Regions from separate parts of the Homo sapiens genome. Here all the other regions are linked to region 2. Evidence: promoter capture Hi-C in human tissues and cell types (Jung and others, 2019). All regions are on one chromosome and are shown on one strand. Each heading gives the region's core, a stretch centred on a gene start or on the middle of the fragment in contact. The rest is flanking DNA. Distances are from core to core; before and after follow the strand shown.

Region 1 (4,366 bases), core at 710-3,209, 600 kb after region 2:
AACTAAGTGGCCTCATTAATCCAAAGTCACAAGGGACCCGGACTCTTTCTCTTTTGTTGCTTGGCCATTCCTGGGATGTTATCCACTTGGTCCCAGGTGGTTCAACACATCCCAGTACAACCAGCAGGAAGGAGATAAGGGGAAACAGAATCGTGCCTTGGAAAAGGCCCATGATTCCATTGGCCTGGGCACAGTAACGTTGCTACATCTTCCTACAAGGGGTGCTGGAAAGTGTGGCCATGATCCTGAGAAGCTGGTGAAAAGTGGGTATTCTATTACTCACTGAAAGAAGAGGAGGATGGGTTTGAGGGCAACTGCTTGTCTCCATCCCAACTATACATCAGCACATAGATGGCAGTCAAACAATATATGGTTAATGCATTATTATATTTGTTACTATTTTGATGATGAATATCTGACATCAAAGAATGTCTCTTGTCTTAAACAACTAGAGAACAATTTTTATTCCATCAATTAAAGATCGTCTAGGACCAGCTGATTATTTTAAAAAAGTTAATCAACTTGCATTATAATTTATTTTACAAATATGAGGAAATTGTTATCCTTGGTTTCTAGATATTTGTGTGATGATTTCTTTTTTTTCCTTTCCTTTTTTTTTTTTTTGAGACGGAGTCTCGCTCTGTCGCCCAGGCTGGAGTGCAGTGGCGTGATCTCGGCTCACTGCAAGCTCTGCCTCCCGGGTTCATGCCATTCTCCTGCCTCAGCCTCCCGAGTAGCTGGGACTAAAGGCACCCGCCACCTCACCCGGCTAATTTTTTGTATTTTTAGTAGAGACGGGGTTTCACTGTGTTAACCAGGATGGTCTCAATCGCCTGACCTAGTGATCCGCCTGGCTTGGCCTCCCAAAGTGCTGGGATTACAGGTGTGAGCCACCACGCCCGGCCCAGAGTAACATTTTTGATAAGCTGCATGGTGCTAAAGGAAAAAGAAAGTTGGAAGTATTTGGGCATTTTTAGCTTTGGGTGAGCTGGTGAATTTAATTTCCCGATTTGTTGCTGAGAAACACAGTTTTTCTGTATGGGTAATTACAAAGTTGTATTGTTAAATTGCATTCAGAGTTGACAATAGTTAAACAACAACAACACTTTAACACAATAGTTAAAGAATAACAACACAAAGAGCCTATAGCAGCAGAGATGGAGAGAGGGGGAAAAATTCTCTGCTGCTCTTGGAGGGTGGATCTAAGTGTTATGAATCTTGGAGACATATTACAACACAGTCAACAGTCAAAATATTGGTATGGGGATATTTTAAAAGATGGCAGTGGGCTGCAGCAAGGAACCCCATACTGAAAGGGGCTGTGCTATTCTGCATGGAACAGAAGCTCAGGGGTCATGAGGACTCAGAAACATCTAGCGGGAAAGATGGGACTCGTCTGTACCAAGGAAATTTTGCTTGGGTAGATTCAGCAGATATAGCAGCTTCTCCAGAGGAGGGTCTTGGGAGGACCCGTGGATGTATATGTATAAGAAAAAGGGTCAAATTTTAACACCTTAGGGCCAGGCATGGTGGTGCACACCTGTAATCCCAGAACTTCGGGAGGCTGAGGCAGGCAGATTGCCTGAGCTCAGGAGTTTGAGACCACCCTGGGCAATACGGTGAAACCCTGTCTCGACTAAAATATAAAAAATTAGCCAGACATGGTGGCAGGCACCTGTAGTTCCAGCTACTCGGGAGGCTGAGGCAGGAGAATCTCTTGAACCTGGGAGGCGGAGGTTGCAGTGAGCTGAGATCGTACCACTGCCCTCCAGCCTGGGTAACAGAAGGAGAACTTGTCTCCAAAAAAAAAAAAAAAAAAAAAAAAAAAAAAAAAAAAAATTAACACCTTCCATGTCTGGGGGATGCAAAGCCACCTTACTTAATACTAATAAAAGAAGAATAGGTTTGCTTGATTTACATGCCACCCTTGGGATCAAAAACCTTAGCTAGTGCTATAGATGGAATGTTGTGTCCCCCTCCCTAATTCATAAGTTGAAATCTTAACACCCAGTGTGATGGTATGAGGAACTGGGGCCTTTGGGAGGTGATTAGATCATGAGGATGGAGCCCACATTAATGGGATTAGTGCCTGATATGGTTTGGCTGTGTCCCCAACCAAATTTTATCTTGAATTGTAATAATCCTCATGTGTCATGGGAGGGGCCCAGTGGGAGGTAATTGAATCATGGGGGCAGGCCTTTCCCATGCTGTTCTCATGATAGTGAATAAGTCTCATGAGATCTGATGGTTTTATATAGGGGAGTTCCCCTGCACATGCTCTCTTGCCTGCCACCATGTAAGATGTGACTTTGCTCCTCCTTCACCTTCCTCCATTATTGTGAGGCCACCCCAGCTATGTGGATCTGTGAACCCATTAAACCTCTTTCCTTTATAGATTACCTAGTCTACGATATGTCTTCATTAGCAGCGTGAAAACAGACTAATACAGTATCCTTAAAAAAGTGATCCCAGAGAGCTCCCTCATCCCTTCTACTGCATGAAGACGAGGAGGCAGCGGGTCCTCACCAGATACTGAATCTTTAGAGCCTTCACTTTGGACTTTTTAGCCTGCAGAACTGTGAGAGATAAACTGTTGTCAATAAGCCACCCAGGCTACTGCACTTTGTTGCAGAAGCCCCAATAGACAAAGGCAGCTAGCAGATATGGGGGCGAAGGAACAATGTTCACTGGGGAGGGAGCCGACTTAAACAGGGAGGACATTTTACTTATAGCAAGTTTATAAAATTTTGATTTATGTAATTAATATAATTTTCAAATAACACATCGAGACTATATGATCTTAAGGATATTATAAGACTGATTATAGGGGAATACGATAGAATAGCAGTAACCAGAATACCAAATAAATCCCCAAATCTCAATGGACAGACACAAGAGAATTATGTCCCCCTTAAATCTGGCTAGTGGAAGTCCTTCTGAAACCAGCCTTAAGAGTCCCATAGAGAGTTGCTTTTGGATAAACATAGAAATGGACCCTTGTGCTGTTAAAGCTTGAAGCGTATATTTGTTTTATCTGAGTTCCTTTCTCAGGAAACGACCTCATGCTTCTCACAAAAAATATCAAAGAAGGGAAACTAGATCACCACACCAGATGCTGGACCCCTCATTCACCATGATGGCTTCCTTGCCCTTCCCAAGTTCCTGTTTTCTTACACATTGTTACATTTCTTGCCTGCTATGTAAAGCCCTGGTTTTAGTCAGTCAGAGATATGGATTTGAGACTGAGCTCCCATCTCCTCAGCTGCAGCAACCAATTAAAGCCTTCTTCCTTGGCAATACTCGGCGTCTCAGTGATTTGCTTTCTGTGCAGTAAGCAGTAGGACTCAGACCAAACCCCTGGTGTTTCAGTAACAACTTCCAGGTGCTGCTGAGAACCCGGCTATTTCCATTTTGCATATTTGTATTTGGATAGGGGAAGAGAAAGTACAAAGCTGACACTCTCTATTCCTACTCACCTTGGCTCAGAAGCAACACATCACCACTGCTCACACCCTATTGGTGACAACTAGCCACACACCCCCAACTAAATGTCATGGTGGCAAATGTTATTCCCAGCTGGACAGCTGCTCCCTGTGACAGCTCTGCATGTTGGAAGAGGGAGTGACACATTGATGGATAACAACCTTTCTGTGTCAGAACTTGTGAGCTGTAAACCCTCCTAGTCATTATCCAGGGGGAAGACAAAGGGTCATCCCTCTAAGTGGTAGAAAGGGAAGGAAAAGACAAAACCAGAATTGTTTCTAGATTATTTTCCTTGCATCTTGAGGGTTCAGTGCAACAGCTATTTATGGCATAGGGCTCCAGTGGGGACACAAGATACCACAGGAAGCCACAGCAGAGATGTTGAACCCACACTTGAGAGGATCGAGCAAATTAAATGTTTAAACAGGAAACTTAGAGTTGAGGAGGAGCTAGCCAAACACCAATGGGGGTTAGGGAACGTCCAGGCAAGCATGGCACCCAGAAAAGCCTCAGAATGGGGAGAGCATGATGCATTCTTGGGACTGAATGGTCCAGTGGGGTGTGAAGGGTAAAAGGGATGGGGCTGAAGGGTTGGCAGCCACCAAATGGGGACACATATTGTTACCCACCAGGCATTTGGGGAGCCCTTGGAACGTCTTCAGGAGGAAGTGGGGTAACTCGATTTACCTTTCAGGAAGATCCCTGGGGCTGCAGGGGGAAAAGCCTGAGGGAGCAGAATTGAAGGGGTCAGCCCAGATGGCACTGGTGATCTGGGGGTAAGAAAACTGTGGCTTAAAGGAAGGCAGAAGCCCTGGGTGTGAAGCAAGTGGGCAAATTTGAGAGCTGGTTAGGAGGCAAGACCTCACTTCTCTGTATCTAAACA
Region 2 (3,785 bases), core at 429-2,928:
ACGTCTCCTAATTAACCTGGGCTGGAGACTCACCACCTGCCCCTGGCTTTCTTCCTTCTTTTATCTAGGAAGAACTGAGTGCTGCCTCTGCTAATGAGCTTGTCTGTACTAATCAAGCAGGTGCCCTGTCCCCCATCCCCTCTTGGCAGCCGGGAGTGGGGAGGATTGTCCTTCTGATGTGAGCTCTGGGCCCGCAGAGGAAAATCAGATCTATCATAATAATGGCCATGATGATGAGAATGATAATGTTGACACTGACTCCTTTAAATGAGTTCCGACTTCCTAGGTCAGGGGCTTTGTATGTGTTATTGGGGACACCAGGTGATGTGCAATGCCTTCCATCTCTCAGATGAGAAAACTGAGGCTCAGGGAGGAATAAGGGACTCGCCCCAGCTTGCACAGCTAAGGAGCGGCAGAGCTGGGATTCTCAGCCAAGACTCCATGACTCCAGAGCCTTCCCCAAATCTGTCTTTTCATCACCCCACGCTGCCTTATTGACCATTTTCAAAGAGTTTGACCCACTTTTTCATGGAAAACTGAGATGGCAGAGCAAGTGGCTGGTGTGGTGGGGGCTGGGGCGGAGCCAGGACTCCAAGCCACCCTCCCAGGTGGGCAACCCCCCATATCCCCTGTCCTCCCAGCGTGGTGGGGAAGCTTGAAGGCATCTGAGCGCTGCTGGAGGCTCCCCCACATGCTCCCAGCATGACTCATTCATTCGGCTTAGCCCCCCGTGGCTTTGCCCTGGTTGGGGGTGGGGCGCCCAGGAGGATCAGTGGTTTCTGGGATAATAGGTACTGGGGCTCCGTGTGACCTGTGACCTCCCTCCGCACTCTGGCTGCGTCCCTGCCCCTGGATGGAAGAATTCGACCACCTAGTACCCGGCCCTGCGCAACACCTCCGCTCCGTCACTGCCTGACCCTGCGCTGGGAACTCATTCCCGGGACCGCCAGGGAATCTGCCCTTCCCAGGAGAACTCCTGGCTGCCTCCGCGTGCTCCTAGGGCCTGCGCGAAATGGGAAGGCGCATCCTCTAGCCTGGGTAAATAAGGGACCCTGCCTCACCCGGGTGGCCATCCCCAGGCCGCCTTCGCTGTGTTTCAGGTCACCGCACCCAGCCTGCGCACCCCTAGCCCCCATCCCGGTGCCGTGCAGAGGCTCTGCACACAGCCTCGGCCTCCCGGAGGCCCTCCCCTCTCTCCTCTCCCCTCTCCCACAGGCACTCCCTAGCTGTGCCACATTTAACCCGGGACCTCCTGTCCGCGCTCAGTCTTGCAGTCTCTGGCCCCGGCAGACACCACCTCTCCAGAGGTCGCTGCCCCATCCCGGTGACCCTCCGCTGGCCTCCTCACCCCTCGACCTTGGCAACTCCTACCGCTGCGCCCCAAGACGCCGGATCTAGCTGGGCATCCCCTCTCTGCATTGCGCACCCCTCCCGCAGCCCCTGTACCCGCGAGCGCCCGCGACCCCCGGCGGGCTCCCGGAGCCTCCCGGCCGGGCGCCCTCCCCCGAACCGCCGAGCAGTGGCGCGTCCCGCCGCCTACTGGCCGGGCTGCCGCCTGTGCCCCGGCTCCCGGGCGGCCCCTCCCCCGGCCGCGGCCCCGCCCTCCGCTCCTCTCCTCCTCCTCCTCCTCCTACTCCTCCTCCTCCTCCTCCTCCCCCCGGCGCTCGCTCGCTCGCTCACTCTCTCGCTGGCTCGAGGGGCGGCCGGCAGATGGCGATGGCAGAGGCGGCGGCGGCGGCGGCGGCGCGACCGGGATGGGACGGGCGCTGGGGCGCAGGAGCCGCGGCGGCGGCGGCGGCGGGGGCCGCGCAACTCGGGCCAACTGCGGGGCAGCCGGCCAGGGCGCGGGGCGCTGAGCCTCGGCCGCCCCAGCTCCCCAGCCACGCACGGCCGAGCCCAGGAGAGCGCGCAGAGGCGCAGCCGAGGAAGCGCCGCCAGCGCCGGCGCATGCGTCTGGGGAGGAGCGGCGCGCTGGGAGCGAGCCATGCCCGGCGCCCGGGCGTAGCCGCCGGGGGCTGCTCCGGGAGCCGCGGGCCGGGCCGGGCGCGCGAGAGGAGCAGCCCCGCGCCGCACCCACCGCGCGCCGAGGACCATGCCGCCCCCGGGCCGGGCGCCGCCGCTCGGGCTCCTGCTGGCGCTGACTGCGCTCCAGTGCCCAGGTAACGCGTCCCCGGACCCCATCCCCGACCCCGGCCGAGGCGCACAAAGTTGGGTGAACGGGCGGCTACCTCCTTCTCAAGTCCCTGGCAGCGCGCATCTCCCGGACTTGGACAGACCTGGGGAGACCCTGGGAACCCAGGAGCCCCCGGCGCGTTCCCCTTTGCCTAGCGCCTGGGGAGAGCCCGCCTGCCTTCTCCCCCAAACCCTTAGCTTCCTTGCGGATCCTTTCGGGACGCACGGGGGCCACAGACCGGGGCACTCAGCCTCTCGAGGCGGGTGGGGACGCGACTGCAGGAATCGAGCCCCCTCCCCGCCCTGCCTTGGGCCAAATCCCCCCCAGGTCCCAGTTCCTCCAGGGGTTTTGCTGGGCGGGGGCGTCGACGCAGCCCTTCTCCAGTGTCTTGCTGCCCGCGGTCGCACAGTGGTGCGTTCCCGGGACACCTGCGGGCCCCGGAGATGTCTCGGCCGGCGCTGTCTGGCTTGTCCGCAGCCCCTCCCCACGCCCCGCGGCCCTCCCCTGCTTTCACACTGCCCTCCCCAAGCTACCCACCCTCGCCAAATGGCCTCCTCTTGGCCAAAGAGCAGCCCGCTGCGCGCCTCCTGCAAACGCGGTCTACTCCAGCGCCCTGACCCCAAGGCGGGCGGGAGAGGGTAGCCGCGGCCAAGCAGTCCAGGACGCGCCGGGGAGCCTGGAACGCGGTGCTGTCCAGAGCCATTGCCTGGGCACCGGGGAGCTGGACTCCCTGCTGAACCAGCTCAGCTGTCGCCCAATCCTAGTGAGTGGGAAAAGCAAAATAGTCAGGTATTGTCTGTCTTCGCTGGAGTTTGGAAAGCTTTCTACCCACCTTGGTGTGGCTACATGTTGGTTCTATAGAAAGCGTATCCTAAAATGACAATTCCTCCCCTCCCCCCACCCCATGCAAGCAGTGGAGAAAATCCTAAAGGCTCAGATGAACCCCGGGAACAGTCACGAGCAGCCTTCATGTGCTTTTGAAATCTCAGTTCTCCAAACCTTTTAAAATCAAGACCCATGATTTGGGAACAGGTAGCTTTTGCTTTAGAAAATCTCTCCCCATTTCCTTAACAAACAAATCGCACAGACAGGCAGAATGCAGTAGAAAAATACAACTATAACTTTTCGGCTTTCACTGTCTTGGTAAGGTTGCAGTTAGGAGCAAACCTGGCATGTCAACTTGATGTTCGATGTATTTTATTTGCATGGAAAAAGTCAGTGTCGGCTTCCTTTGAGATGCCCTTAAGTGACCCAAAATATTTACCAACACCTTCGACTTGAAGAAAACCTTCTATTGGAGATCTCCGTCAGCGTTCGGCTTTGGTTCAGCCTAGAGAATGGCATTGGGCTTAACGTGGATGAATCTTGCCTGCTTGGCTAAGGAGCAGCTATGATAGCTGTTTTGCTTTCGGCATTCCTCTGCGGTCCACGAGAGGGGCTGCTGCTGGGGCCGAGGCTGTTTTCTCTTAGCTGAAGCCCTGGGACCTGTTTGCAAAAGTGCAGTCCCTCGGACTTGAAAATTGCAGTTTTGTCTCTATTTTGTTTCTCCACGGGGGTCAGCATTTGCCTGGATGTGCTTATAAGTGAATATCGGAAGTCTCTCAGAGAAGCT
Region 3 (3,880 bases), core at 847-3,346, 880 kb after region 2:
TCCCAGCACCCAGTGATTGGCAACCTGTTACACTTAAGACCTTTAATGATGTGAGGGCTGTTCTGTGGATAGAAATAAAATAGCTGATACAGAAATTTCTTTTAATAGACCTTGAGGTAAGCTTTACACTTAAATTATAAGGTGAAAGGAAGAAAAGCTGCTGTGAGTTCATTCTCCTCTCTTCCCATACCCTAAATGACTTATCCCATTAAATTGAATTCTGAAAGCTGCAAAACAAGATACCTGGCTATTGTGTGACTCTTGTGTTACTATGTATACCTCTGAGTGTATTTCTCTATCATGGGAGATTGTGTAAGATCTCTATGTTGTAGAGATCTTAAGTCCTTGTTTCCTGCCAAAGCCCCTCTCGGAATCTATCCAGCCAGATGGTTCTCTTGTGTTAGTCCAGTAGGGGGGCTTTAAATAAAGAAATCCAACACGGACACCACTGGAAAGTGTCCCAGGGTTGGAAGATAATGAGGAAGCTGATTTTTCTCATGCAAAGACAAAAGTGACATCTTCTTAAAATTCTTAATTCAATTTGAAGGGAGAAGTAATTACCTCCTCTGGCCATGATGTTGAAATGTCCATAGAGAGGAAAATGGACTTCACCCTCATTAACTCCGTGGATCAGAGCCAAAAGCAGCATTAGCCAAAAAGGCTTCTTCAAGGGCACAGATCCCCTAGATCAAAGCATGTTCTTGAGAGAATAGAGCATGAAGTTTTGTGAGTGACTCCAGTTAGAATCACATGGAGACTTTTCTATTTTTAATGAATCTTTCTTGTATTGTAGTTTATGCAGGTCCACAGTTGGGAACAGGGCAAAGCAGGGATGTGGCATCTGAAATGATTTTTTCTGTCTTCATTGATTCGAGCCTGTGACTGTGGCTGGCAGCTGTTCTACTGGTATTTATCTTGGAGGCTGGTCACACCATCAGGCTCTACAGCACAGAAAAACTTCATTTTTACTCTCTGTCCAGGGCCTTCAGACACTCACTGATACCTCTGTTCATTTGTGGCTGTAGATAATACCTAACCCAATTTCAGCTTACAAAGCCCCATTGAGCAAATGCAAAGTTACAAAGTGCCTCCCTATACAATAGGAAACAGCCCAGCCTGGGAACATTGTCACAAGCATTAATAGGTCACTGTACCTACACATCACTGCATATGCTATTGTGTGCAGTCATTCCAACTCTCCTCTAATTAGAGGGGTGATTCATGTCAGGGGCATAAAGCAAATATTACTTTATTTTTCCAAATTCTAGAAAGCAAGCTTCCATTTTTGATAATAGAAATTTGGGAATGATTGGCAGTCATTTGGCTCACAGGGAAAGCAGGAAAAACAAGAAATCTAAATAAATCTCATATTGATTTTGAAGAAGCTTTCTTGTGACATCTGGTATGCTTTATTTTGTATGTATCAAATCCGAAAATAATAAACAAGTTGATGTAAACAAATGCTTGAAGTAATGCTCAAATGGCAGCTGGATACTTGAAGACGACAGTAGGAAATTTAGCTTTATTAACGGTGCATGCTTGTGCACAGTACAAACTTTATACTTCCTAAATGTTGTCTGAATAAATGATACACAAGCATCAAAATATGTTTGAAAAACATAAAAAATGGTAGAAATATGAGATTATGTCTGAGAAAGCAGCTCAGAGTGGGGTTCTAACCCCAGCTTTCTGATTAGCCCACTCTTGACCTCAGATTGCATCACATAAGCCCTCTGAGCTTCAGTTAAATCCTTTATCAAGCAAGGGACTTAACTCTGTGACCTGGGAGGCTCTGGCTTCCTGTCACTGCCATGAGGCTCTAGTACAGCCAGAGATACAGGGGTCTAAGAACCTGTGTTTAGGATTTTGAGCTGGTTTGATTCAGGTAATCATGTTCTATCTCTGTGTCCTAATCTGTGTTTAAGGTTTTGAATTGGTCTGATTCAGGTAATGGTGTTCTATCTCTGTTTATCAGGATCTTTACCCCTGATAAAAATCCAGAGATCACTTGAATGCAGGTGGTTTTCTCTTCATATTGTTCAATGAAGAAAGCACCAATTAAGGATTCATAATAAACCATTGCCCAGTGAGAAATTGGCCTGGGGTTCCAGGGTGAAGAGGACAGAAGATTTTCATTGGGAGCACCTTAATGAGGACAACAGATCCTGGCTTAATAGAGAACATAAAGTAATAAAGAGAGACAAATCCATCTATCCATTCATTCCACAGCATTGATTGAGTGTCCGCTGTATACAATGGGATAAGGAAAAGATGTCCGTTGGTTCATGCGCAATGATGGTAACAGGTTTTCATTGCTGAACATTACATATTTCCTTTTTAATTTTAATGTTTAATTTTCGTGGGTACATAGTGGGCATATTTATTTATGGGGTACATGAGATTCACTCTAATAAGGTGTAGTGAGTTCCAGGGATTTCAGAGTTGATCAAGGAAAACCATATGGCCACAAGGTGGCAGTAGCGCACAATGAATTTGTTCAGGCTTCGCTTTGACAGATTTGCCAGCAGGGCAAGTCCCTCATGGCACGAGACCATCCAGAGGCCATGGTTCAGGAGCCCTACCTAGAAGATGAAGAGGTCAAGGGAAATTCTAGGGAAGATGGGGCTTATGTTTCCAGGTGATGTTTCTCAGCAGCACAGTGGGAAGTTTGGGTTAGAGAGCTTTGAAGAGCAGAAGATGCTTGGGGTCTTTTACAGCAAAAGAGTTTATTTTATCAATGGCTAGCAGATAGGGGGCACACTTTTGGTAGATATCCAAAGCAGGCAGGCTCTAAGTGGATAAAAGTCTGCTTATTTGGGCTATGATTAGAACAATTAGATGTGTAAAAATTTGAGTTGAGTGCCAGTGGGCTTTTGAGCTAATGGTCCCAGCCTACTGTGAAGAAGTATACAATCCAGAGGCCAAAAATAAAAGGGCCATCTTTAGTTCATTTATGTAACACGTGGTCAACTGATCCTAACCCCATGGGCATCATAGACTAGTGAGTGAGACAGACACACCTACTCATCCATCCATTCACACAACAAGCAATGACTGGGTTCCTCCTTCATCTCTGAATGTCATCACACAGGGCATGGGGGATTCAGAAATAAAGATGGCATCTTGAAGGAACTCATGCTCCATTGAACATGTCCAGATTTTGGTCTGAGTACAGACAGCAAGAGTTAATATAGAAGTGGGGACTCTGAATGATGCAAGTCTCATCAGCAGAGGAGCTGGGGGAGTGGGAAAATATCATGAGCTTTCCTAGAGGGAGTGGCAATCAAGCTGACTTTCGAAGGAGAAGCCAGAGACAGCCCAGCGGATATGCTGGAAAATGTTTTGCGAACTGAGGGGCCAGCATGTAACAAGGCTCCTATGCCTTGGGGACACAAGCTGAGTTTGGTGGAGCTTTGGATTGAAGAACAGAAAGAGCAAGACATTAGGCAGTGCATGCAGGCAGGGGCTAGATAAGGCAGAACCTGTGGGACGCAGTAAGAAGTGGAGCCAGTGAAAGTGTTAAAGCATGGCAGTGTACACAATTCTCCCTGACTGTGGAGGAAAGGAGGGTGGCTGCTAGGACACCAGATGGGAAGGAAGTACTGGCATCCAGGTGCCTGATGCTGAGGGCCAGAGGTAAAGAGGCATGGACAGAAGAGCCAGCCTGGGAGCTGGTGAGGAGGTGGGATTAGAGTCCTGCTAAGGAAGCACAAGTCAAGGGACTTTAGTCCCCAACCATGTGCATCCCTCCTGACCTGGTTATCCAGAACAGCTCTGCACACACTCACCACATGCTGAACTGAGGGGTGATTTGCAATTGCTGGGGTGATATAGGAAGAGCATCCAGGCAGAGGGAAGGGCTTAGGGTGAGGGCCAGCCT

What was found. The method cuts DNA at HindIII sites, captures the fragments that hold promoters and counts their contacts. A contact is called where the count stands out against the background at its distance.
Region 1: a fragment that was not itself captured here is called in contact with the fragment with the promoter of TMEM132B in region 2 in 1 of the 25 tissues and cell types used here (mesendoderm cells).
Region 3: a contact is called between a fragment that was not itself captured here and the fragment with the promoter of TMEM132B in region 2, in 1 of the 25 tissues and cell types used here (mesendoderm cells).

Annotation. Positions count from the first base shown.
Region 1 is chr12:125,787,546-125,791,911 of GRCh38, forward strand. No RefSeq gene overlaps it. Among named protein-coding and RNA genes, the nearest start is that of LINC00939, 190 kb to the right of the region's middle. The HindIII fragment of the contact is 4,604 bases long and covers 1-4,261 here.
Region 2 is chr12:125,184,708-125,188,492 of GRCh38, forward strand. It overlaps TMEM132B (transmembrane protein 132B), which reads left to right and starts at 1,679. Exons shown (of 9, transcript NM_001366854.1): 1 at 1,679-2,159. The coding sequence starts at 2,093. RefSeq lists an enhancer at 880-1,413 and a silencer at 1,462-1,671. The HindIII fragment of the contact is 11,061 bases long and covers 1-3,785 here.
Region 3 is chr12:126,067,252-126,071,131 of GRCh38, forward strand. No RefSeq gene overlaps it. Among named protein-coding and RNA genes, the nearest start is that of LINC02359, 27 kb to the right of the region's middle. The HindIII fragment of the contact is 4,397 bases long and covers 1-3,880 here.